Regions from separate parts of the Homo sapiens genome. Here regions 1, 2, 3, 5, 6 and 7 are each linked to region 4. The links are contacts of gene promoters, found by promoter capture Hi-C in blood cells and fetal thymus (Javierre and others, 2016). All regions are on one chromosome and are shown on one strand. Each heading gives the region's core, a stretch centred on a gene start or on the middle of the fragment in contact. The rest is flanking DNA. Distances are from core to core; before and after follow the strand shown. Region 1 overlaps SREK1IP1 (SREK1 interacting protein 1). Region 2 has its middle 42 kb from the start of SHISAL2B. Region 3 has its middle 60 kb from the start of SHISAL2B. Region 4 holds the start of ADAMTS6 (ADAM metallopeptidase with thrombospondin type 1 motif 6). Region 5 overlaps SREK1IP1 (SREK1 interacting protein 1). Region 6 overlaps CWC27 (CWC27 spliceosome associated cyclophilin). Region 7 overlaps RGS7BP (regulator of G protein signaling 7 binding protein).

What was found. Contacts are between HindIII fragments. The CHiCAGO score rates a contact against its expected background, and 5 or more counts as called.
Region 1: a fragment that was not itself captured here is called in contact with the fragment with the promoter of ADAMTS6 in region 4 in 7 of 17 cell types (total CD4 T cells, total CD8 T cells, activated CD4 T cells and 4 more); the score reaches 8.9 in total CD4 T cells.
Region 2: a contact is called between a fragment that was not itself captured here and the fragment with the promoter of ADAMTS6 in region 4, in 2 of 17 cell types (M0 macrophages and total CD4 T cells). The highest score is 5.5, in M0 macrophages.
Region 3: a fragment that was not itself captured here is called in contact with the fragment with the promoter of ADAMTS6 in region 4 in 15 of 17 cell types (total CD4 T cells, total B cells, megakaryocytes and 12 more); the score reaches 18.4 in total CD4 T cells.
Region 5: a contact is called between a fragment that was not itself captured here and the fragment with the promoter of ADAMTS6 in region 4, in 4 of 17 cell types (activated CD4 T cells, M0 macrophages, erythroblasts and 1 more). The highest score is 7.1, in activated CD4 T cells.
Region 6: a fragment that was not itself captured here is called in contact with the fragment with the promoter of ADAMTS6 in region 4 in 16 of 17 cell types (fetal thymus, activated CD4 T cells, total B cells and 13 more); the score reaches 19.6 in fetal thymus.
Region 7: a fragment that was not itself captured here is called in contact with the fragment with the promoter of ADAMTS6 in region 4 in 3 of 17 cell types (total CD4 T cells, M2 macrophages and M0 macrophages); the score reaches 5.7 in total CD4 T cells.

The regions. Positions count from the first base shown.
Region 1 is chr5:64,728,348-64,731,617 of GRCh38, reverse strand. The region is part of intron 3 of SREK1IP1 (SREK1 interacting protein 1); the gene reads left to right. Among named protein-coding and RNA genes, the nearest start is that of SREK1IP1, 39 kb to the left of the region's middle. The HindIII fragment of the contact is 4,686 bases long and covers 1-3,270 here.
Region 2 is chr5:64,646,537-64,649,792 of GRCh38, reverse strand. No RefSeq gene overlaps it. Among named protein-coding and RNA genes, the nearest start is that of SHISAL2B, 42 kb to the left of the region's middle. The HindIII fragment of the contact is 784 bases long and covers 900-1,683 here.
Region 3 is chr5:64,629,299-64,632,659 of GRCh38, reverse strand. No RefSeq gene overlaps it. Among named protein-coding and RNA genes, the nearest start is that of SHISAL2B, 60 kb to the left of the region's middle. The HindIII fragment of the contact is 710 bases long and covers 1,569-2,278 here.
Region 4 is chr5:65,480,154-65,483,546 of GRCh38, reverse strand. ADAMTS6 (ADAM metallopeptidase with thrombospondin type 1 motif 6) reads left to right here and starts at 1,627. Exons shown (of 25, transcript NM_197941.4): 1 at 1,627-2,204. RefSeq lists enhancers at 1,425-1,474, 1,248-1,747, 1,515-1,874. The HindIII fragment of the contact is 619 bases long and covers 1,200-1,818 here.
Region 5 is chr5:64,749,002-64,752,088 of GRCh38, reverse strand. The region is part of intron 2 of SREK1IP1 (SREK1 interacting protein 1); the gene reads left to right. Among named protein-coding and RNA genes, the nearest start is that of SREK1IP1, 18 kb to the left of the region's middle. The HindIII fragment of the contact is 2,028 bases long and covers 704-2,731 here.
Region 6 is chr5:64,771,377-64,774,613 of GRCh38, reverse strand. The region is part of intron 1 of CWC27 (CWC27 spliceosome associated cyclophilin); the gene reads right to left. Among named protein-coding and RNA genes, the nearest start is that of CWC27, 4.1 kb to the right of the region's middle. The HindIII fragment of the contact is 3,566 bases long and covers 1-3,237 here.
Region 7 is chr5:64,609,858-64,612,937 of GRCh38, reverse strand. It overlaps RGS7BP (regulator of G protein signaling 7 binding protein), which reads right to left. Exons shown (of 6, transcript NM_001029875.3): 6 at 619-3,080. Among named protein-coding and RNA genes, the nearest start is that of SHISAL2B, 79 kb to the left of the region's middle. The HindIII fragment of the contact is 2,217 bases long and covers 524-2,740 here.

The DNA.
Region 1 (3,270 bases), core at 37-2,536, 750 kb after region 4:
CCTGCTTCTTCCCATTTTTATTGTCGTCCTATATCTAGTTCAGGCCATTCCTCACAATTATTTTAAGATTCCTGTCCTCTTTTTTTTTTTTTTTTTGAGACAAGGGCCCACTCTGTTGTCTAGGCTGGAGTTCAGTAATGCAATCATGGCTTCTGGAATCACTGCAGCCTCAAACTCCTGGGCCCAAGCAGTCCTCCGCCTCAGCCTCCAGTGTAGCTGAGACTACAGGCATGTGCCACCATGCCTGGCTAATTTTTTTTTTCTTTTATAAAGACATGATGTCACTATGTTGACCAGGCTGGTTTCGAACTCTGAGTCTTATGCGATCCTCCAGCCTCAAACTCTCAATTGTCTTATTTTTCATCTCAAGTCCTCTCATTGTTCTTAGAGACATTCTTAGATGACCTGTGAATGACCTGACAACACCCTAACTCATCTTCTCCACCTTATCATTGAAAATGATCTTTTCTGTCTCTTCACCTTAGCCACACATTTCCATGATTGCACCCTGGACCTTGTTCTCAGCCTCCAAAATTAATGGCATACACTGTACGCTTTTTACTCCAAGTTCTTATCTTTCCAGTTTATTTAATGTAAAGACCCTCAGGCTATTGACCCACCACTTTCATTCAGTTAGTCTTCCCCTTATCTAGCTTAGATTCCATCATAGTTATCACCATTATTCTTTTGCAAATATCTGTAACTGCCTTACTCCTTTCTTTATCTTTTACCCTTATCTAGCAAAACCCCAAATATGGATGAACCTCTTTGCCTTCTCTATGCTGATCCCCTTACAGCAGTGCAAAGGTGAAGAGGCAGACTGGTGTTTCTATAAATTCATGATCCCTAATCTCAGCTTGCATTTATTTTTGCAAGTTCACTCCACATACTTATTTTATACCTTTCCCACTTCTCCCTTCCTCCTTCGGCTAATGACTCCCTCTTTCATTGACAAAATAGAAGACACCAAATGAGAGCATCTTAGCTTCCAATTACTGAATCCACAAATTTGCATATATATATATCCATCTTTCTTTTCTTTCCTTCAGTTAAAATGGAAGGACTGTCCTTCCTTTCGAAGGCATGTCCTACCATAATTGCTATGAATTCTTTTCTTCAAGAATTTTATTCCTTCAGTTATCCCCTCTCTGCGTCATCATTTCAATCAGCATCAATTTTTTTTCGTTTTTCCCATTGTTCTTCCCTAGATCCTTTGCATCCCTGTAGCTAACATTCCATTTCTCTGCTGCTTTCTAGCTAAACTTCTCATCAAAGTTATTTATTCTTACTTTCTCTACCTTTTTATTTCCATTTGTTTTTCAGTCCACTTGTCAAGGTCTTTAAATACTTTTTGCCAAATTTATTTGGCGTTTTTATATCCACATTCTACTTGGCCTTTAGGTACTATTTGATAGGTAGCCCCTCTCTTCAACATTCCTACTTCTTGGTTCTGGTATTCTTCCAACCCCGTGGCCCTTCTTTGTCAGTCTTTTTGACAGCTCTTCTTCTTGCTCTTCTCAGCCCGTAAATGTTGGAGTTCCTCAAGATGCAGATAATCTTCCTGGGCTTTACTCCCTGTATTTTTTTCTCATCATTCTCTTACTAAATGATTTTATTTATTCCCCATAGTTTTAAATACTATCTATAAGCTGATCAGTGTGTGTGTCCAGACTAATCTCTAAACTTCAGAATCACATACCAAACTACCTACTTCAGTTACCTACTTGGATGTCAAACAGGTCTTTTAGATCTCAAATGTCTAAAATTGAAATCTTTACTTCCCACCCACAATTGTCCTTCAGGCTCCTACCCACTTCCCACCAATCCACATTTTAATCAGTGGCACTGCTAAAAACCTGGTGGTCATCCTTGATTCCTTTCGTTCCATCATCCTTCGCACACACATATCACCTCAGGACACCATCTCTGGCCTGCACTACTCCAGTTACTTTATTATTCCCCTGCCTTTTCCCCTTAGCCCTTTCCAATTCATTTACCTTGTAAGTCTGCCGATCACACAGTCCGTCTCACTTAGAATGTAAAATCCTTACTGTTGCCTTCATGGTCTTGAATAAGCAAGTTCCTGCTTACCTCTCTGGCCTCTCATTTCATGGTATTCTACATGTATTTATGATATTGTTCATCTGTTCTCATTCATGTTCATTCTTATTCATAGTTGCCCCTCCCCTTCTATCCGCAACAACCTCTTCTTAGTTTCTAGAACGCACCAAACTCTTTTTGCCTTGGAGCTTTGGCACTAATTTCCTCTTCCTGACATGCACTACCCTTGCTGTTCACTTAGAATGCTATCTTTGCCTGTTAATTTTCTTTCTCACCACTTAACTATAAGTTCCCTGTGGGCAAGGATCATGCACAGCAAAGACCCAGTACATAGCACAGTACTTGACACATAAGCATTTAGTAAATATTTGTTGAATAAATGAAAGCGTGGTCAATAAAAATCTCCTAGGATTTTATGAGACAAACTGATGTCTATTCTTTACCTTGCCAAATAACCCCAAGGCTTCCTCCCGAGTAGCTGGGAGTACAGGCTCCTGCCGCCACGCCTGGCTAATTTTTTGTATTTTTAGTAGAAATGGGGTTTCACCATGTTGTCCAGCCTAGTCTCGAATTTCTGACCTCATGATCCACCCGCCTCGCCTCCCAAAGTGCTGGGATTACAGGCATGAGCCACCGCGCCCAGCCTGCTTTTTCTTTAAATATACACAAGTTCTGTCACCCAGAAATACTTCTTATATGTACAAAGATTTCCATTGCTTATTGTTTCTAACAATGAAAGTAGAAATTGATAAAATATGGTTAATGGGAACACTTCTGTGTTTAATAATGATATATATTTAATGACAAAGATAAATATCTGCTATGTTAAGTGAAAAAAAAGCTGCAAAATATATGTGACAGTACATTTTTCAAAGGCAAAAAATACTTGGAACTTATATGCAACTATGTGTGTATGAGTAAATGTGTGTGTATTTGGTTTTATATAAAGAATGCCTACAAGAATACACACCAAATAGTGTATTTAAAAAACAAGTTAGAGAATAATACATATTGCATGATCCTAATTTTGTTGCAAAATAAAATTTTAAAACTGTGCACTGTTGTAGTGTTCTGCTTTTTAAGGGCCAAACAATACCCATCAAACCACTGGCCTTGATTTCCTATGGGAATTAGAGGTGGGGTACTTGCATTTTTTTACTTGATGGACTTAGTATTTGAAATGTTTATAAAAAACATTTAATACTTTTA
Region 2 (3,256 bases), core at 42-2,541, 830 kb after region 4:
GAGCCAGAGCTGTCAGGATGCAGGGAGCAGTGTCCTGAGGTCTAGCAGGGCAGAAGTGTCCTGGGCCTGGACCATGACACCATTCTTTCCTCTCAGGCGTCTAGGCCTGTAATGGGAGGGGATGCTTTGAATAATCCTAAAATGCCTTTGAGGCCTTTTCCCATTGTCTTGATTATTAGCATTTGTCTTCCTTTTAGTCATGCTACTCTCTCTAGCTAGTGATTACTCCACAGCCTGCTTGTATTCCTTTCCTGAAAATGCTTTTTCCCTCTTTGCCACATGGCTAGACTGCCATGGAGATTTTCGCTCGAAGTTACATTTAAAAATGCTTATCTCTATTATTTTACCAAATTTCTTATTTTTTAAAATTTCAAAACTATAGAAAAGTTGAAAGAATAATACAATGAATACTCTGCATACCCTTTGTCTGGTTCATCAATTGTTAATACTTTGCTACATTGGTTTTATCTCACTGTCTCTGTGTGTTTGTATATATGTATGGTTTCTTCCTGAACCATAAGAAAATAAATTCAAACATTAAGATATGCATACCTAAATACTTCAGTATGAATCACCTGATAACGAAGTATCATCCCACAATAGGCACAATTCCTAGAAAGTTGATAATAATGCCATAATGTCATCTAATATCTATTTTATATTCCCCAATGTTTCCAACAATGACTTTTATTTAAAAATTCAGGATTAGTCAAGGATTACACATTTCATTTGTTTGGTATGTTCCTCATTGTTTTTAACCCAGAAGAGTCCTTCTGGGTTTTTTTCACTTTTTTTGTGACTTTTTTGATGACTTATTGAAGAAATTAAGCTAGCTGATTTATAGAAGACTACTCATGGTGTAATTAAACTTGTTATCTTCTCTGTATTTCTTATAAGCTTTAAGTTAGATCTAGAGTCTTGATCAATCTCAGGTAAACATTTTGGGTAAAATATTTCCATATTTCATAATGCATCACATCAAGATGCATATAATGTTAGGTTGCCTCATTATTGATAATAATGTTTGAATAATAATACTAATACATTTGATCACTTGATTTGGGGCTGCCTGTCAGACATTTCCATTTTTATTAGTAAGCGATCTATGAGGTCATATTTTGGGATTGAGTTTTCACAGTGTCTTTTCACGCTGTGGTTTTAGAACCCATTGAGGATTCTTGTTCTCAGCCAATTATAACATTAGGAATTGAGTTACAAAATGGTGATTTTTTTTCCTTCTATTATTTAACCTATATTTATTAGCTGCATTAAAAAATAAAGATGAGCTTTTTTCTCTCAAGTATAACTATAGACTTTTAGAAGTTATAATCAATTATTGTCATTATTCTCTTTGATGCTCAAATTAAATTTAGTGCATACATTATAATTAATGCCAAATCTGGCCAGCGCAAGTCTCTATAAGCCAGCTTTTATCTCCCTTTGATATAACCTAATCAGTTCTGAGGACTGCTTTGCTTTGTGAGAAGATGCCCTGGTTCCCCTTAAACATTCTCTGCTGCTGCCCTGGAGTCAGCCATTTTCCAAGGTGTGTTATTACTTTAATGAGGAATGGTATTTAGAAACCCATCTGGGCATGGGTGAATCCTTAATGATGAAATTTCAGGCATTGCTGTTGGCTTTTTGCAAGAGGCCTTTTGGAGTAGTCATGCCCTTCCGAAAGCTTCTGTAATCATGCTACATATAATGCTGAACATTGTTCCTCAAAGGCATGAGACTAGCCTATGAGCCAGATACCATCTTGGAGCTTCAGAGAGCTGGATGAAACTGAGAAGGGCTGATTAGAGCAGAATCTACCATCTTAGTTTCAACCTATATGTCCTAAAACAAAATTATTTATGGAGAAAATTATGGTCTCTGCCCGCCCCCAGCTTTCTTACCCCACCTAGGTTATTGAACATAGTCCAAAGCTAAAACTTCTTCCAGGTGTCCTCCTTATTGTCTGGTTTACTCCACCCTTAGAATTAGTATAGTCATCTAAGAACGGATCCTAGAAGAATTAAGTAGTAGGCTTATTTGTTCAAGGGCCTTATTAGTCTACAGGCCTCAGGCTATACCCTTGGCCTTATAAACTCTCCCTTGGCCTTAACAGGATGAACATGGAATATCCAGTTACTAGAAGTGAACATGTATGGTTTGTGTAAACTCTACATGCCAATGTATGGATACATTTATGGATCCACCATACGCAATTTAATTTTCTGGTTTAAAGTTTCTTGTTCTAGCTCTGCAGAGCAGACAGCAGGTGACAGGACCCCTGCCATTCTGTACAGAGTTTACTGGTCACCCAATCAGGATTTGAACCAAAGGATCTAGAAATAAGTCTTTAGAGTTTAATGTAGAATTGGGTCTGATAGCTATGTGTAAGTGAGAAAGTAAAGAAAGATGGCTGAGAGATTATGGCAATAGGACTAGGCTGTAAAAAGACTGGGGTGAAGGATACCATACCATTACTAAGAACTATTTCACCTCTCAGGGTCATTCCCTGTCTTTGGAGTCTGTGAAGCATCTGTATCCTTGAAATTAACTTCTTTCATTCATAGAATTAGTTTGATTGTTCTTTGCAACTGGCAAATCTTGGCTTCAATACTATACAGTATAATGGTGCATATTGCTTCTTTCATTCTTTTTTGTTATAGAGAATCGTTGTGTTTTGGGTTATATTATCTGCAATTATCAGATGAATAGAACATTTTCAAATATTTGCTTAGGGGAAAACTGCATATAAAATATTAAATGAACACTACATCTACTTCTTTTGCAAGAGCAGTCAATTGTTTTGTGGATCTGTGCCTCTTTAGCTAAGACTTGATTTAATCTGTCAATAAGCAATCCAATCAACAGAAGCCTAGCAATGCTCTGATCATATGTCAGTCTCACACATGTATCTAGTTATATTAACCTCTCTCTAGATCCAGCTGTGGTTGTACCTATTGTGGAATCAAACAATACTCATAAGTTGAGAATGGTAAATGTTTTTGGATAGTGAGTCATAATAAAGTAAAAATGTGAAATATAAAAATACCAAGGGAGTAGAAATTTTAATTTGGGGTATGGAAAGAAAAATGCAGAAAATGACTTTGGCTGAATGTAGTTTGGTGTTGGTGTATGTTTGACCTCTTCCTGAGTCTGGCCAGCTCCAAAGCTGCCTGTCAGCTCCAGACCTGGGCACTGAGACAGTAGGTTCTGTTGTGAGGTGTTGGGCACTGTAGTAGATGTTACTGTTGCTCCTTACCCA
Region 3 (3,361 bases), core at 674-3,173, 850 kb after region 4:
TCCTTTCCTTTCCTTCAACTCTTCTACCAATTAGAATTCCATTTAGGTTTACTAGCTCCTCTTTTTAGATCATACTGATAGGGTTAGGTCAGCCTGGAGTAGTTTGAGGAAGCAGGCGGGAGGTAGGAAATTTCCAAAGGCAGCCGCCTCCACTTTGTAACTTCAGTCAGGAGTCAAGTGGTGGCAACTGCTTCAAATGTCACAAAAGAACATCTCCACCTACTCCTTCTGTACCCGGATGGATGTGGCTAGAGAAGAAACACAGCTGTGCTAATTTAGTCTCATATTACATTTTTCCCCAGAAGTCTCAAGTGGGCCCTCTGCAAATCCTTGCAATTGTATTATATTTCATGAGTAAATTTACTTTCCTACTTCCAAAAATTATTTCATGCCCTAACTCTCTCTCTTCAAATCAACAGCACCCTCTCAGCTCTGACTTTGTTTCTTATTTCATTGAGAAAATAGAAGCAATCAGAGGAGAACTGCCTCATTCTTCCATCACCAAGTAGATCAGACTACCTGTATTTGTATTCACACAACCTGACTTCACTCCCATTTCAATGCATCAGTGATTATCAACACGAGCTATATGTAGAATTTTTAAAATGCTGATGCCAAAATCCCACTTCTAGAGATTCTGAATTAATTAATCTACTGTGGGACATCTATTTTTTTCTTTCAAAAAAAATCTCAAGGGATTTTAATATACTGGTGGCATTTAGAAACAGGAATTTAAAATTCCTGTTTGAGTCCCTACCTAAGGGCAAGTCCTCTACTTATAAAGTGGATCCTACACTCTCTCTCACCTTCTCAAAACTTCATTCCTTCAACGAGCTCCCCTCCTTCCTACATGATCAATATTTCTCTCCTGGCTAGATAAGTCCCATCAGCATACAAATATACTCTATTGTCTTAATAATCCTTCTTTCTTGGCTCCACCTTTTTCTCCAGCTGCTCCCCCTTACACCAAAACTCCTTCCAGTAGTTGTCTAATAGTGGCTATCTACATCCCATAACCTCCAATTTTCCCATTAACTTACATTTGTCTCTGTCATTCAACATTAAAATCATCAGCAACCTACATGTTGGCAAACTCAATGACTTCTTTTTTTTTCTTTTAGAGACGGAGTCTTGCTCTGTTGTCCAGGCTGGAGTGCAGTGGTGTGATCTTGGCTTACTGCAACCTCTGCCTCCTGGGCTCAAGCAATTCTCCTGCCTCAGCCTCCAGAGTAGCTGGGATTATGGGCGTGTGCCACCACACCCGGCTAATTTTTGTATTTTTAGTAGAGATGGGTTTTCGCCATGTTGGCCAAGCTGGTCTTGAACTCCCAACCTCATGTGATCCACCAGCCTTGGCCCCCAAAAGTGCTGGGATTACAGGTGTGAACCACTGCGCCCGGCCCCAGTGACTTCATTTTAAGCTTTGACTTATTTCACTTTTCAGCAACATTTAGCACAGTTGATTTTTCTTGAACGCCCTTTCACTAGGCTAGAGCATCACTATCATCTTTCTTTCTTATGAGTGCTTCTTCTCAGACTTCTTTGCTAGCCCCTCTTTTCCCCAAGCTTTAAACCCCAGGTGATGCTCTGGCTCAGGGCCTGCCGCTAATCTTCTCCAGCCACATTGTTTCTCAGGGGATTCTCATCCATTTCCATGTGTGGGTAGTTCACACAGATGTTTCTTGAACTCTCATCTCTTTTCTAAGAGCGAAGCTCATATCTCCTTGCCTCTCTAACATCTCAATTTGGGTTTCACATAGGCACACAAGTTCTCATTTCTCCACAACCATGCCATCCCACAACTTGCAACCTGCAAGTTTTCCACATCTTAGTAAATGGCATCTGAGTCACTGAGATCAAACTTTTTTAGTAGCATCCTTTGTTCCTTTTTTCCATCACTTTATATCCAGCTCACAAACAAGTTTAGATTACTTTCTATTACCACTTCTCCTCATATCCCATTGTTACCAGTCTCATCCATGCCATCATCCTCTCTTATCTCGGCTATTTTAACACTGTCTTAACTCTGCTTCCACTTTTGCTCTACAGTCTGCTCCCACACAGCAGCCAATAAATCTTTAAAATATAAATCAGATCATGCTACACCTAAGCTCCCCCGTGCCCTCTCCTAAGGGCTTCCCATAACACTTGGAATCAAATCCACACTCCTTAACATGACCTACAAAGTCTCACATTTGCTACCATTCCTACCAGTCTCCTTTTCATTCACTCTGCTTCAGCCACATGGATTTATGTGTATCCCCCATAAGGCCAAGCTTGTTTCTCCCTCGGTCATTGTTTCTTCCTCAGTCATTACATCTTTTGTCCCTCTTCCTAAAAAGTTCTTTCTAGACATCTTCATATGTCTGGCTCTTTCACATTGTCCTGGATTCTGCCTCCATGTTGTCTCCTCAAGAAGCCTTCTCTAATCACCCACTGCAGAGTAGAGGGAAGAATATTTATTTATATTGTTTACTGCTGTCTTCCCTAGGACTTGACACAAAGGCAGCTCTTAGTGAACAGCTGTTTAATGAATGAATGTTTTGTGCTGCCTTTAGCATGAGAGCCTTGGTATCCACCCTAGGATATAAGACACAAGGTGGCTGTGTATCTGTAGGAAACAGACAAGTGGTGTGAAGAGAGTTTAATTTAAAAAAAATGTAAAAAGTGTGGACAGGATATAAGGAAACCACAAGAGATAGTGTGGCCCTCCAAGAATATTAACAATGGGATGCCTTTACAACTCTTAGGGAGCAGAACCTAGAGAGAGGGTTGCATGGGGAGGACCATCTGCCAAGAGTCGAGACATTCGATCACTGCATGTAGTCAGCCCACTGTGACCCTGCAGGGAGACAGTCAGTGTGACACATGTCCTGATTTCATTGTCTTTCTCCTCCCTCCTCCCTCCTGTCAGGCTCCCCTTTGACAGACACATTTGGAAGCCAAAGGGCAAGGGAGCCCACTGATGGAATTCACATGGCTAATCCTCCTGGGGCACAGAGCAAGTTGGAGAAGATTAGAGATAGAGCTGGTGGAGCAGAAGAATATCTAACACTCATGCCTGGAGTTGGAAAGTAGCTTGTTTCCCCCCAGTAGACAGGTTGACTAAGTATTTAAACGGCTGCTTATTGTTAGGAACACATTATTCTTTTTAGAGTTTGTCTGCCCCTTGCATGGTGAGCTGCTCGAAAGCAGGCATCTCTCAGTCATGGATCATATGCACAAAGTATAGTTGACCCATGGTATCTGAGGGTTCCACATCCATGAAGTCAACCAACTGTGGCTTAAAAATATTCAGAAGGAAACAATAAAAAATACAAATACAATAATAAAAATAACAGATAAAACAATATAGTATAAC
Region 4 (3,393 bases), core at 378-2,877:
ACTATTGAACAGATTTCTACATTTTAAATGGCTTTTAGCCAGATACTACTGATTAAGGTCAGGATGAGGACTATTTACTCTGTGGACAGATGCTTTCCACTTTCAACCCTTGAAGAAGAATTGAAATAACTGTATTCTTGGACGTTCTCAGTCTGATTCATGCCTCCTTTTAGCCAACTATTCATAGATTCACCAGAAGAATTACACCTACTACCTCCGGCGTAGGAAGAAAAAAAAAAATCAAATGGGCAATAATGTTAGCAGAAGCTTGATATTTAAGAGCTGGTATTCAGAAAGATCATCCTTCCTACCCCCTTCCCTCCGGTCCAGTTCTCCTTTCTGGTTCTCACCATCGGAAATTGACTTGGCATTAACTAAGGGCTGGAATTTCAAGGCGTCAATTTTCCCCTGCCCCCAACCTCGGAAACTCTTAAACAGCTCCCTATTCTACACTCAATGGTAGAGACAGATAAATGATGCAGCAGATTACACCGTTGAAAGGCAACATTTGTCCTGAGCTATTTTCACATTTTTTCCTGTTTCCGATGTATGTGCCAGACTTTGTTTGCTTGCTTAGGACATGGAAAACACTGGGCATTTTCTCCCCAGCGGCTTTCATTCTCAGCAAATGAAAGTGAAAGTGCTACATTGTAGCGGTATTTTATCCTTAAAGTCTGGACTGGCAGCTTGTGTGTAGGGGGGAGGGAGGGTGGGATTGGGAAGGTTGAAGAACCAGTTTTGAGGTTTTGTTTGTTTATCTTGAGATCGCAGCAGGGTTCCTGTTTTTTTCCCTTCCTTTTTTTTTTTGGTGGTGGGGTCCTACTTCGGATTTATTTTCATTTGGGCAGTCATTGAAGTTTCATTCAATGGACTGACTTAAAAAAATACACTCCACTTGTGGCTTTTCCCGGTTGCACTTTAAAACACCATCCAGTCTCACCCTCATCTGGAAATAATGCAAGCTTCTCTCTTCCTTCCCCCGCTCCCTCCTCCCCTACTTTTTTTTTTTCTTCTTCTTCTTCTTTTAAAGCTCCACATAACCTGAAGTCGATAATCAAATGGAAAATGTGCTGGTATTAGTTTACTTTAGTTTACTTTCCCTTTTGGTGCTAACCTTACTTGCTGAAGTATGTATAAAACACAGGCATTTTGTACACTTGTAGCTACTGAGTCTTGTGCCTGCTGCACGAATCTAAGCTTTAAGTTTCCTCAGAGGCACTGTTTGCGTGCAAGTTTTAACATTTTGATTGTGTGGATTTTAAAAATAAAATTACACGGAGAATGACACCAGAGATCTTAACAGTGACATTAGTCCATCTAAAGTCATTCATCCTTCTCCCTCCCCCTTCATTTTTCCAAGAAACAACTAATAGCAAACCAGGCTAGAATTTCTAAGAGAGTTTAGAGGAGGAGGAGGAAAAGAGGCGGAATGAGATAGGACAGAGAGGTTAGAGAGGCCAGAATTTCTCTCATTCACAGTGTGGAAAAGTTGACATTGTCTAAGCCCTTCTGAATGGCTGGTAGTTGGTTACCCCGATTGTACCTCTACCTCCCCTCCCCCTCCACGTGACGACCCAGGACACATGCGCACCCGACGCAGCCCAGGCACATCTGCAGACTGACGTCAGTGTGCTCTGCCTCCGAGGAAAAGCTGCCAAAATTTTCTCCTGCTGCAATTCAAGTTGGCTGGGGGCCGGTAGTGAGATCTAGGGCTACTTCAACAAAACTTTGCTGCCCTTCCTGCTCCTCTTGTCTTCTTTTCTCCTGATACCTTTTGATGCTCTGCACATGTTATTTGCATAGCAAAGGCACTAAGCTTTCCAGGAAGAGAGGGCACCACTTCCACCCCCAATAAGTCTTTTTTCCCGTCTTTTCTTTCTTTTCCTTTCCTTTTTTGGGGGGTGGGGAGGGAGAGAAAGGGGGTTTGCAAAGGCAGCATCTCAGAGTGATAGCCTAGATGTATTGAAGGCATCTCTTATTCTGCCAAATCGGAAAGTCAGTTCTCTAAAGCCCGGGTTAGCCAGACCATAGGGTTTTATTCTGGCTGCAGAATAACTGGCTGGTGTGGCTTTGCAAAGGGGGGCAAAAAATAAAAAAATAAAAAAAATTAAAAAAAGTTAGAGAGGAGAGGGAGTACGTGAGTCGTCCAGTGCAATCTCTATTGTCTGAAACTTACTTTTTATCAGAATTTGAAGATGAAAACGGTAAGGAAGACTTAACAATATTCAATGGAGCTTTTTTTTTTTAAACCAACAACTTGTGCTTTGCTTGTCTTCCGAATAACGCTTAGAAAACTTTTTTTCTGTGTGTGTGTTTTTTTTTTTTTTTTTAATGGCAATGAGTGAGCTTGACTGAACTCATTTTACAAATAGATATCTTTTTAACTCCAGACTTGTCGGGGGTTGTAGAATTCTGGGACTTGCAGTTATTTTATGATGCAAAAAAAATACGTTTATTTTATGAATATACAATACATGTTTTGTGAAGTGGACTTGATTATGATTATTGTAATCTTTTAACTGATCACCAAATAGTAATCCGGAAGGTAATAATGATGTGTGTGTTTTAAATTGATTTCCAGTTTTCTTACAGAAAAGTCTTATGCATTTTGTAGTTTCATGTCAGTGTCGTTAAGTCTTCAGACAAGTGCATATTTTATGCCTGGGCTCAGAGGGTAGCATTAATGTGCTAGCTGTAGCCCCGATGCTCTAGGACATGTTAAGCTCTTAATAGGCTAATCAAAGAGATGGAAACGTGTGTTTTTGATTTACTTTTGGCCACTTGGGACGTGCTAGACTCATAACCCTCCGGAGCCTTGTTTATCGGGGTAGGTCTGTATATATGGTGTATGGGACCAAAGTTCAGGGATTGAGGAGGGAGAGTGAGAGTGCAGGAATGGGGTATTGGGAAGCCTCTTTCTGATAATATGTGCTACAATTCCTGTCTTTGATGCTTTCTTTCCCTGTACTAGAGGAAAAGTGAGCGAGAGATTGAGAAAGCGCACTGAGAGGGAACAAGAGAGTGAGTTTCTTACTCTTGTTTTTATTTGAGCTGCCGGTGCAACGCGTTTGGGCCAGATGCCAACTGTCTGGGTCACACGCGTTTTATCCAAATAGATTTAGCGCTGCTGTCTGGAAATGGGCTGCTGAATGTTAACTTTAGGATCAACTCAACCAGGGCAGCTCAGACTGTTACCCTCTGTCTGGGCGAAGTGGAATGGTGGGGGCGGGGGGAGGTGAGGGTGTGCAGAGCAGAGAGAAAAAGGGAAACTGAACCATTGCTTGGAACTTTAAAAGAGACACTTGAGTGTGATTTTCAACATGTTCTTTTTATGTTCAAGTGTCGTGGACTAATTTTCTGTTCTTTTTTCTTTCTTTTTAGTTTCTGTTGATT
Region 5 (3,087 bases), core at 468-2,967, 730 kb after region 4:
TATTTTTAAGTTGGTAACTTCGGAATATTTAAAAACAGCAAGGACACTAGGCCTTGGGATTATTTATGGGATAAATGTCTCAAATAATCATGATAGTTTTCAGAAAGTATGATTAAAAGATTAGTATAGTAGACCCAGTGGTTGATCACAGCAGCAGGAAATAAAAACAAATATGTAAATACCTTTAACATTTTACATAAATATAAATTTGTCACTTTTTTATTGCCTGTTTATATGTCTGTTTATTGGTGTTCAGTCTTGTGTGTGTAAACCACATCTGAAATGCATTTTCTATTTTTTATAGTTTGCTTCTTCAAAGGTAGGCAAGAAGTTAAGATACTTGTAAAGAAATTTATCATTAATTCTCAACCACAGGTGGTACTGCCTCCCTAGAAATCTGTAGAAGTGTTTTTTATTGTCAGCAACAGGATGGAGGGTGCAGCACTATGACGCTTACTATGTAGAGCCCAAAGATTATAAACGTCCTACAATGGTAGGACAGTCCTGGACAGTGAAGAACATTCTGGCCCCAAATGCCAATGGCATTCCCTTTGAGAAGCAGGTACCTTGTCCCATTATTTTAGATTATTTTTTTCCTTTTACAGTCTTATTGCCATTGCTGAATTTGTCAATTGCTTTTTAAAAGCAACTTAATTACATCTTTCTAAAGGTACAGCTTTTGTTTCCTAGAAACAACCAAGCTTTTTTTCTCCACATTTATATTTTGTTGACCTATATGATATTTAATTAAACATATTTTAGAATAATAACAGACTCCTCATAGAGTACAATATCAGATGGTGGAGTAAAATAATATAGGCATAAACCGAGGGAAAAGTGACCGGGAAAATATGGCAGAAGAAACAAGAGCATGTAGCATCACATTAGCCAAAGGATGTGGGGGAAATTGTCAGGTGCAACAGATAAGAGTTATAAGAAATGAACTGAAAAATGTTCTTTGGGTTTGGCAGGTAGGATGCTTTGCTTCCCTTAGCAAGATCAGTTTAAGTAGATTTGTAGGTCATGAAACAAAGTGTGTAGATTCAGGCCTGAGTGGTGGGGGATGAAATAGAGAAAGCCAATGTAGTCTCCATTTTCAAGAAATTTCCATGAGAGAGGTACAAAACATTGAGTAATTTCTGGAAGAAACTGGGATAAATGGAGAGGGTTTTTTTCTTTTTTCTTTTTTAAGGTATAAAATGTTGGTATAGACTGAGGGAAACATTAGAGGACATATTACAAATACTGGAGGATAAGGAAAGATTAAGCAAGTTCCTCTAAGAGGTATGACAAGGATACCTCTGAAGTTTGGAAGAAACTAGATGAGAATAGATATAGATGTTTTCAGGTGGTGATAGAAAGTAGGAGATCCAGCCTGGTAATCTCAATTTTGTTTGTAAATTAGAAGACAGGATTGCCTCCTTAGGTAGGGAGTTTGAGTAGGACAGGACAGTGAGTGATGAATGTTTTGAGACAGGTACCAGTTTGAGAAAGTCATTGAGGGAAGTAGGAGAGGAAGTTGACTAAGGACAAATAAAAAATGCTAATATGCATGAACAGGTGGTTGTTACACTCAAGCATTGCCTGACTACTCTGTGAGGTGGTGGGGGAGTGGTGGGTAACAACCCAGAGAAATAGTAACTTTGAGTCAGATTCATTTGTCTGCAATGAGGATGAACAAGGGTATATAAAAGAGTCAGACTTGTAAAAGGTTGTTCATATTGTCAGTAATAAGAGATTTGAGACTGGGAGAAAATGAAGGCATTAAGGGAATGAAGATCATAATGAGAATCAAAAACAGATCTATGCATGAGTGTAAATGAATGAAAAAGCTAGAAGGATGAAAGACACAGTCAGAGTTTAATATTGGAGTTTAAAATTTCAGAGATAAAACAGTTGCAGATGATAACAAGGACCATAGTGTGACCATGGAATCTAGAATGTCAGGGAACCCAGAAAAGCTATCCAACAACCTAGGCTGTCCATTCAATCTCGTGGCAGGGCTTGGGGTAAAGAGTTAGAGTATGAGCCACATTCAAAAAATTTCAATGAATGGGGCTGTTAACCTGCAGCAGGGAGCTGAGTGGACAGTTAAGGATTACTACTTGGAAACAATATTGAGAAGCCTGGAGAATACTAATAATACTGAGGTAAAGGATAATTAACTATAGAGAAATGCCCTCAAGGAAGAGCCAAATATCCCTTAAGTGTGGTGGCAACACTATGTGAGCGCATAGGACAGTTACATGTTTAAGAATCTATCGAAAAAGACTAGGAAAGGGGCAATGATCAGCTAGGTCAGTGGGGAAATAAAAGATAAATATGAGGATAAGACTTCCAAGGAAGTTGGCCAGGTGCAGTGGCTCATGCCTGTAATCCTAGCACTTTGGGAGGCTGAGACAGGCAGATTGCTTGAGCCCAGGAATTTGAAACCAGCCTGGGCAACATGGCGAAACCTCATCTCTACAAAAAACAAACAAAAAAACTAGCCAGGCACGGTGGCGTGCACCTGTTGTTTCAGCTACTTTGGAGGCTAAGGTAGGAGGTTGGCTTGAGCCCAGGATGCAGAGGTTGTAGTGAGCTAAGATTGTGCCACTGCACTCCTGCCTGGGTAACAGAGCCAGACCCTCTCTCAAAGGAAAAAAAAAAAAGACTTCAAGAAAGAATATATGACTACAGAAGAGGCCGGCATTTTTAGGGGTGGAACCAAAATGTTAGGGATGTGGAAGCTTGGTGGAATGAACTGGGTTTAGGAATTTAAAAGCTTATAAAATAGCTTGTGTGTTCTCAAATCTGAGGATTTTAGGTAGAGCTAAAGCCTGGTTAAATTAGTAGCTGTTAGCATAGTCTATATATTCTGTAAGCCCAGAAGTAGACATTTGGGTACCCTATTTATAAAACAAGAGGGTTTTTGTGTGTGTGTATAGATTGACAGATTTTTATCTGTACAGTCAAAATGAAACATGAAACTGGAGGGTTTTTATTATTATTATTATTATTATTATTATTATTATTATTATTATTATTATGTGGCATAGCTACTCCTGGAAGGAGGAAAGGGGAGAATATACTTGTCCTTGTATTAGT
Region 6 (3,237 bases), core at 395-2,894, 710 kb after region 4:
ATCACTAGTGAGTTTTCAATTTTAAAAGAAATATTAAAAATTGTGTTTGGCTTTTGTTGATATACTCAACAAAATGTCAAATATTCACTACAACTCATTGTACATTTAGATCTTTCAAAATACCATTTCAGAAAAAGTTTGGGATTTAAGAAAACAATAGCATATATCTTTTTTAATCACAGAAAAAAACTTCATTCATTTAGAAAACGGTAATATCTAAAGTGAGTTCACTTGAGGCTAGGAGTTCAAGAACAGCTTCGGCAACACAGACAGACCCTGTCTCTAAGAAAATTTGTTTTAATTAGCCAGGCATGGTGGTGTTCCATGCTATTTGGGAGGCCGAGTTGAGAGGATCACTTGAGCCTGGGAATCTGAAGTAATAGTGAGCTATGATCATGCCACTATATTCCAGCCTGGATGACAGAGCAAGACCCTGTCTCAAAATAAAATAAAACATGACAAAACCCCAATAATGCAAATTTGTTATAATTGAGTTTCCCATTGCATCAATTCCAATAAAACTGTGTAGCAAATTAAGAAATTAAAGAATAATGAACCCATTAAATTGTGACATTATAGGACAATTTTATAATTACCCTTTTTAATTACCTTTTACTCTCTCTGCTCATTTAACATCATGCTATTCCTAATTTACAAAGGAACATTCTTAATCTAATTCTGGCTTGTGATTTACTAAAATACTATGTCTTAAAATCACCTTCTATAGTAAATAGAATCCCGTGATAGCCTTTCCACCAGCTCATAACAGCAGATACTCCTTGGTAGAACCAGAAACTTTGCAACTAGAACCCCTCCCTGCTGGGCCCACAGGAAACAGTTTATAACTGTCTTATTTATAACCACAAATAACCAAAAAGAATGTTAGGCTCTAAATTTGAACATTGTGGCATAGCTGGAAACCAATTTCTCCAGTATTACTTCTTCTTTTTTCTCCCCTAGTATACCAAAGTAGATCAGTGTCAATAATTTGTGACCATCACAATCTTTTAGAATGCTCTTTCAAGTAAAGAGTATGCAATATAACTGTTCAAAAACATGAGGCTGTTTCTCATAGGTCAGTATCATCAATGCTAAGTCACATTTCACCACCCTAAAAAGAAACCCTGTACTCATTAGCAGTCACTCCCTATTTACCCCTACTCCTACTCTCTGGCAGCCACTAATCTACTTTCTGTCTGTGTAGATTTGCCTATTAAACATTTCATATAAACAGAATCATACAATATGTGGCCTTTTGTGTCTGGCTTCTTTTACTTAGCATAATGTTGCTTTCAAATTATATAGGGGTCTTTCAGTTCTACACATCTAGTTTTTAAATGTCTTGAAAATCACAATGACTTTATACTCTTACTGGTAAATATTTCAAGACACAATATATATTTAAGGCAAAGTTCACCATTGAAAACAATAAATAGAAATCCATATTTCCAATGGTCTTCATAATAATTTCTGATTTTTTTGACAGACTTCCCATGCTGAGGTATCAGCTCTATCATGTTCTTATGATTTGCTTGTTTATATTATTAATAATATCTTCAATAAGAAATTTGTGATGGCTGGTTTAGTTAATCTAAATACTATGGTCTATAAATCTATTTGGCTAGTCGTTATGAAAAATTACACCACAATGCCAAAAAAGTGCCTTTTTTTTTTTTTGAGACAGAGTCTCACCCCGTTGCGCAGGCTGGAGTGCAACGGCACGATCTCGGCTCACTGCAACCTCTGCTTCCCGGGTTCAAGCAATTCTCCTGCCTCAGCCTCCCGAGTAGCTGGGACTACAGGCACCCACCGCCACACCCAGCTAATTTTTTGTATCTTTAGTAGAGACGGGGTTTCACCATGTTGGCCAGGCTGGTCTCGAGCTCCTGATCTCATGATCCGCCCGCCTCAGCCTCCCAAAGTGCTGGGATTACAGGCATGAGCCACTGCGCCTGGACTTTTTTTTTTTTTTTTTTTTTTTTTTTTTTTGAGACAGAGTCTCACTGTCTCCCAGACCCGAGTGCAGTGGTGTGATCTCAGTTCACTGCAACCTCCACTTCCTTGGTTCAAGCAATTCCCCTGCCTTAGCCTCCTGAGTAGCTGGGATTACAGGCTCACAACATCATGCCCGGCTACTTTTTTTGCATTTTTTTTAGTAGAGACAGGGTTTCACCCTGTTGGCCAGATTGGTCTTGAACTCCTGACCTCAGGCAATCTGCCATAGTCTCCCAAAGTGCTGGGATTATAGGCATGAGCCACTGCACCCAGTCATCATCTTTTTATATATATTAAATAATGAATTTAAACAAAGGAAAAAAATACAAATATATATAGATTTTCTCCCCACAGCTCATGGATGGTTTTGCACACCCACTGAAGTATGCACTCACTGGTTTAGAAACCACTGCTCTAATGAACACACTAATTACATCATCCCTCCCTCCACAGGCTCTGGAATCAGGATGCCCAAATTCAAATACTGGCCCTTCCATTTACTAGCTTTGTTACCTTGCGCACACTATCTGACATCTCTGTCACTTAATTTCCTAATCTAAAAACGGGATAATAATATCTTTTAGGATTTCTGTGAGGACAAAATGAGCTGTAATACATAGACTGCTTAGAAAAGTAAATGACAAATAATAAGTGCTCAAAAAATGATAGTCATTATTACGTGGTTTTTTGGCCACAGGCAACTTACACCTAGTAAAAAGAATGCATATATAATCGGGCCACTTTGCTCACCAGGGTTTCTTAATCTTTTCATTAATAAGCTACTGAATTAATAAAGAAGGTATATGGCTCCTTCCTCCTCTGGCCATACATTCTCTTTGGTCATCACTACTTTGTAGGCCTCCTTGGCTCTTTCTCTTAAAATTCCCAATTAATACCTTGATAATATCATGTTTCTTATAAACATATATGCAAATATACTTATAAAGCCATTTTGATTTTCAAGATATTTAAAAACTAAGTGTGTACAACAGGAAGACAGACCCCTATCATTTGAAAGCAACATTACACTAAGTGAAGAAGCCAGACACAATTTAGAATAAGTGATCATAATATGTGGAAATTTCATCTTCAGGGAATTACCTCTTATGCTTAAAAACTTTCTGTCAAGTACTACATTTCTTTGCCTCATCTTCAGGGGCTAGGGTTACAGCAAAACACAGAACATTTATGGACAACCAGGGACCAAGCACTGGTATCATGTATCAATTACTTCCCAAGCTG
Region 7 (3,080 bases), core at 383-2,882, 870 kb after region 4:
AAATGTCATTTTTATAATATACCCAATTCTTTTATATTCTTAGGTCTATTATGGTCTATATATTTAATTCTAATAATTTATCCTGAGGCCAATAGTATCACAGCTTTTTCTCATCCTACCTATGGTTACCTGAAAGTTGAGCATTTTGTATTTGGTGACATTCCTAAGACAAAGAAATGATAGACGTTGCCTGGGTATGTGGGTAGGGTGGGAAGTTTGACCGGATGATATGCTTAATCCTTTCAATGTTGACACTTTCAGAGTTTTAAATTCCAGATGGGATCATTGTTAATCTGGTCCATTTGTTTGCTGTTTAAAACAAAGTAGATGCTTTTACATTCTGTCTTTATTTCACCTCACTCTGAAGCTCAGCTTTCAGTAGGTGGCAGTATTGCCAAACACTCAGTATCCCGACTGGTTTCGTAGGAGCACAGAGAAACAAAATGGTCTGGCAATTTTAGAATTTCCCCCAAGAGCTTTAACTCATTAGAGGAGGCATCAGGACTATGCTACTTCTAAAGCTTTCTTTATACCCCTGAATAATGGCATAACCAGAGGTTTGCAGTGAGTCTGCTCCTAGATGCGTGCAAAACATTAGCGGACAGAATTTTTTTTTTCTGGCTTGTTTTTTTTGTTTGTTTTTTTAAGTGACACCTTGGCCTTGTGGGCATTTCTTCACTTATCTTACCCAAAAGTGCCTTTGGGCCCAGCCACTGACTGATTTAAAACCCAGAAATGTGGTTTTAAACAATGTGGTCGTGGTGGAATTCAGGTGATTTTTATTTTCTATTTGGTAGTATTTTTCAGATTTCCCACAAAGAACATGTATTGTCTTTGTAATTTGAAAAAAAAATCAACACAGGATAGTAAAGATATGGTGGGAAAATGGGTGAATGTATGCCACAAAAGTTTACATCATTTTCTGTTTCAAGCCTGTGGGTACATGCGACAAAATGAGTTCAATGTTCTCTTCTTAACCCTAGAGATCAGCTCAGTGTTATTGCTAATCTGAAAGCGAATTACCAGCAGGAAGCCGAGACAGTAGAACTTTATCGCTTGGAACCACACCTGAGAAAATCCTTTGGTAGGTGAGAGGAGAGTGGGGCAGCTCCTAAGGGATGCATTGGCCTGTCTAATGTGAGACGGTGAATTACCTACTGTAACCTTGGGCCAGTGTAGGTTACCAGGGTTTTGAGCACTAAACTTAATTTTAGTATATGCTACTGAAAGAGGATCTTTAGATCTTGGAGTTTATCCACGGGAACTACAAAACTGATCAAAGGCTGGAAAACAGGCACTATGAATAAAAGATACGGTAGCTGAATATATTACCTTAAATATGCAAACTCTGGCTAGGTAATTAGACAAATTCCCATCTCCATGAATAGCTACTATAGCCTTTTCAGACATGGAGGTGAGACCTGAATTTATTAACAGTCTTCAGTTGTACAAAGGACAATTGCACAGAAGGTAAGTGTTACTTTCACACTGAGGCTAAGGTGAGAATGAACACAAGTTAACCAAGCAGAAGTTATTTAGGTCAGGCATTTAGAAGAACGTGCTGAACAAGATTGGGCTTATCAGTTAATAACTTTTGCATGGATTAGTAGGAACTAGATTGAAGCTAGAGTTCAATATAGTTGAAGTATAGGAGAGGGCAGAGGCAGGTGCTGAGAGCTGCCAAACTGGGCTACTTCAAAATTTCAAAAACAATGGATCTTAAATGAAATGACCTTAGTGGGTGAAAATGAATTAGATTCAGGAAAGGATATTAAGCTGAAATCAAGGTTTGCAGACCAGATAAGTCTGGATTGCTTGCTTTTCCAGGGAGTATTTACCCTAAGAGTCTTTAAATAGCCAAATTGTTTTACAAATATTTGATTCAGAAAATTGTGATTTTCTCATATAGCTTTCCACGGCTACTTCTTTTTTTTGAAGCCAGGTATACCTATAACCATGCATTAATTACTGGTTCCTTGGAACACAACTCTAGATTCAAAGAATAAGGCCAAAAACCAGCTGGTATGATCTAAATAGAGACCTGTATAACGTTCTCTTCCAACCCTTTAATTCTTTCACTTTCAATCAAAAGAGCTAGAAGACAATTCCAAGTATAATTTCCACATTGGATATTAGGGTGAACTATAAGAAATTGCCATTTTGTAGGTCAAAACAGTCACATATAGGAAATTTCATATAATTCAACCTAATACAATAATTATTACAGTAGTTCATCTTCACTAAAGCAAAAGGCCTTAATATATTTAGTTTTTAGGTAAAAATATTGGTATACATATAAATGCCTGTGCACATAAGTATTGGTAAAGAACAGGGTTGGGACTAAAGATGTGTCTTGGATAAACCACTTATCGGCATCTAGCTCATCCTTCTATTGTACTGGACACTGGTGCCTCCTGTCTGACTTGAAGGTTTTTCAGACTATGGAAAACAAGAAAAAAAGTGCAAAGACTTGATCTCTCAACCCATGGGAAATTCTGTCTGGGAAATGGGCCAAAGGAAGAACAGGAGACGGTATAACAAAATTTGTACCATGTTACAAGTTTAGTGAAGGAAGATCACAACAAAGCTGTGAGCAGAAAAACAAAGCATGTGGCTTCCTCCTTTCTAAAATATAGTATTGCTTAATGTGTCCTGCTTTCAAGAGTCTAAGCATAAGACAAGACACCAAGTACACGTTGGAAAAATCTTATCTGCATAGTCATCTAAAATGAGACAAGCTTAGCTTAACTAAAAAACTTTATTAACAATGTAAAATGTTAAATATTTTTATAATCTGAGCTAATTCCAGCATGCCCTATAAGATTTAACACTATGCTGATGTGCAGACACCATGCTTCAGATTTCAATTAGAACAAAATGTAATAATATTTGATTTTACATTTGAGGGCAATTGTATATGTTACTACACCATTTCCTAACTGGATTACTTCATTCTCCAAGAAGCTGAAAAAGACATCATTGGATCAAAAAGAAATTAGTTGCCCATATGCATTTGTACGAAGGTATTAGGATTATTGTGTATTTACAAAATTTTAGTACTTTTCATATGTGGTTTTTGT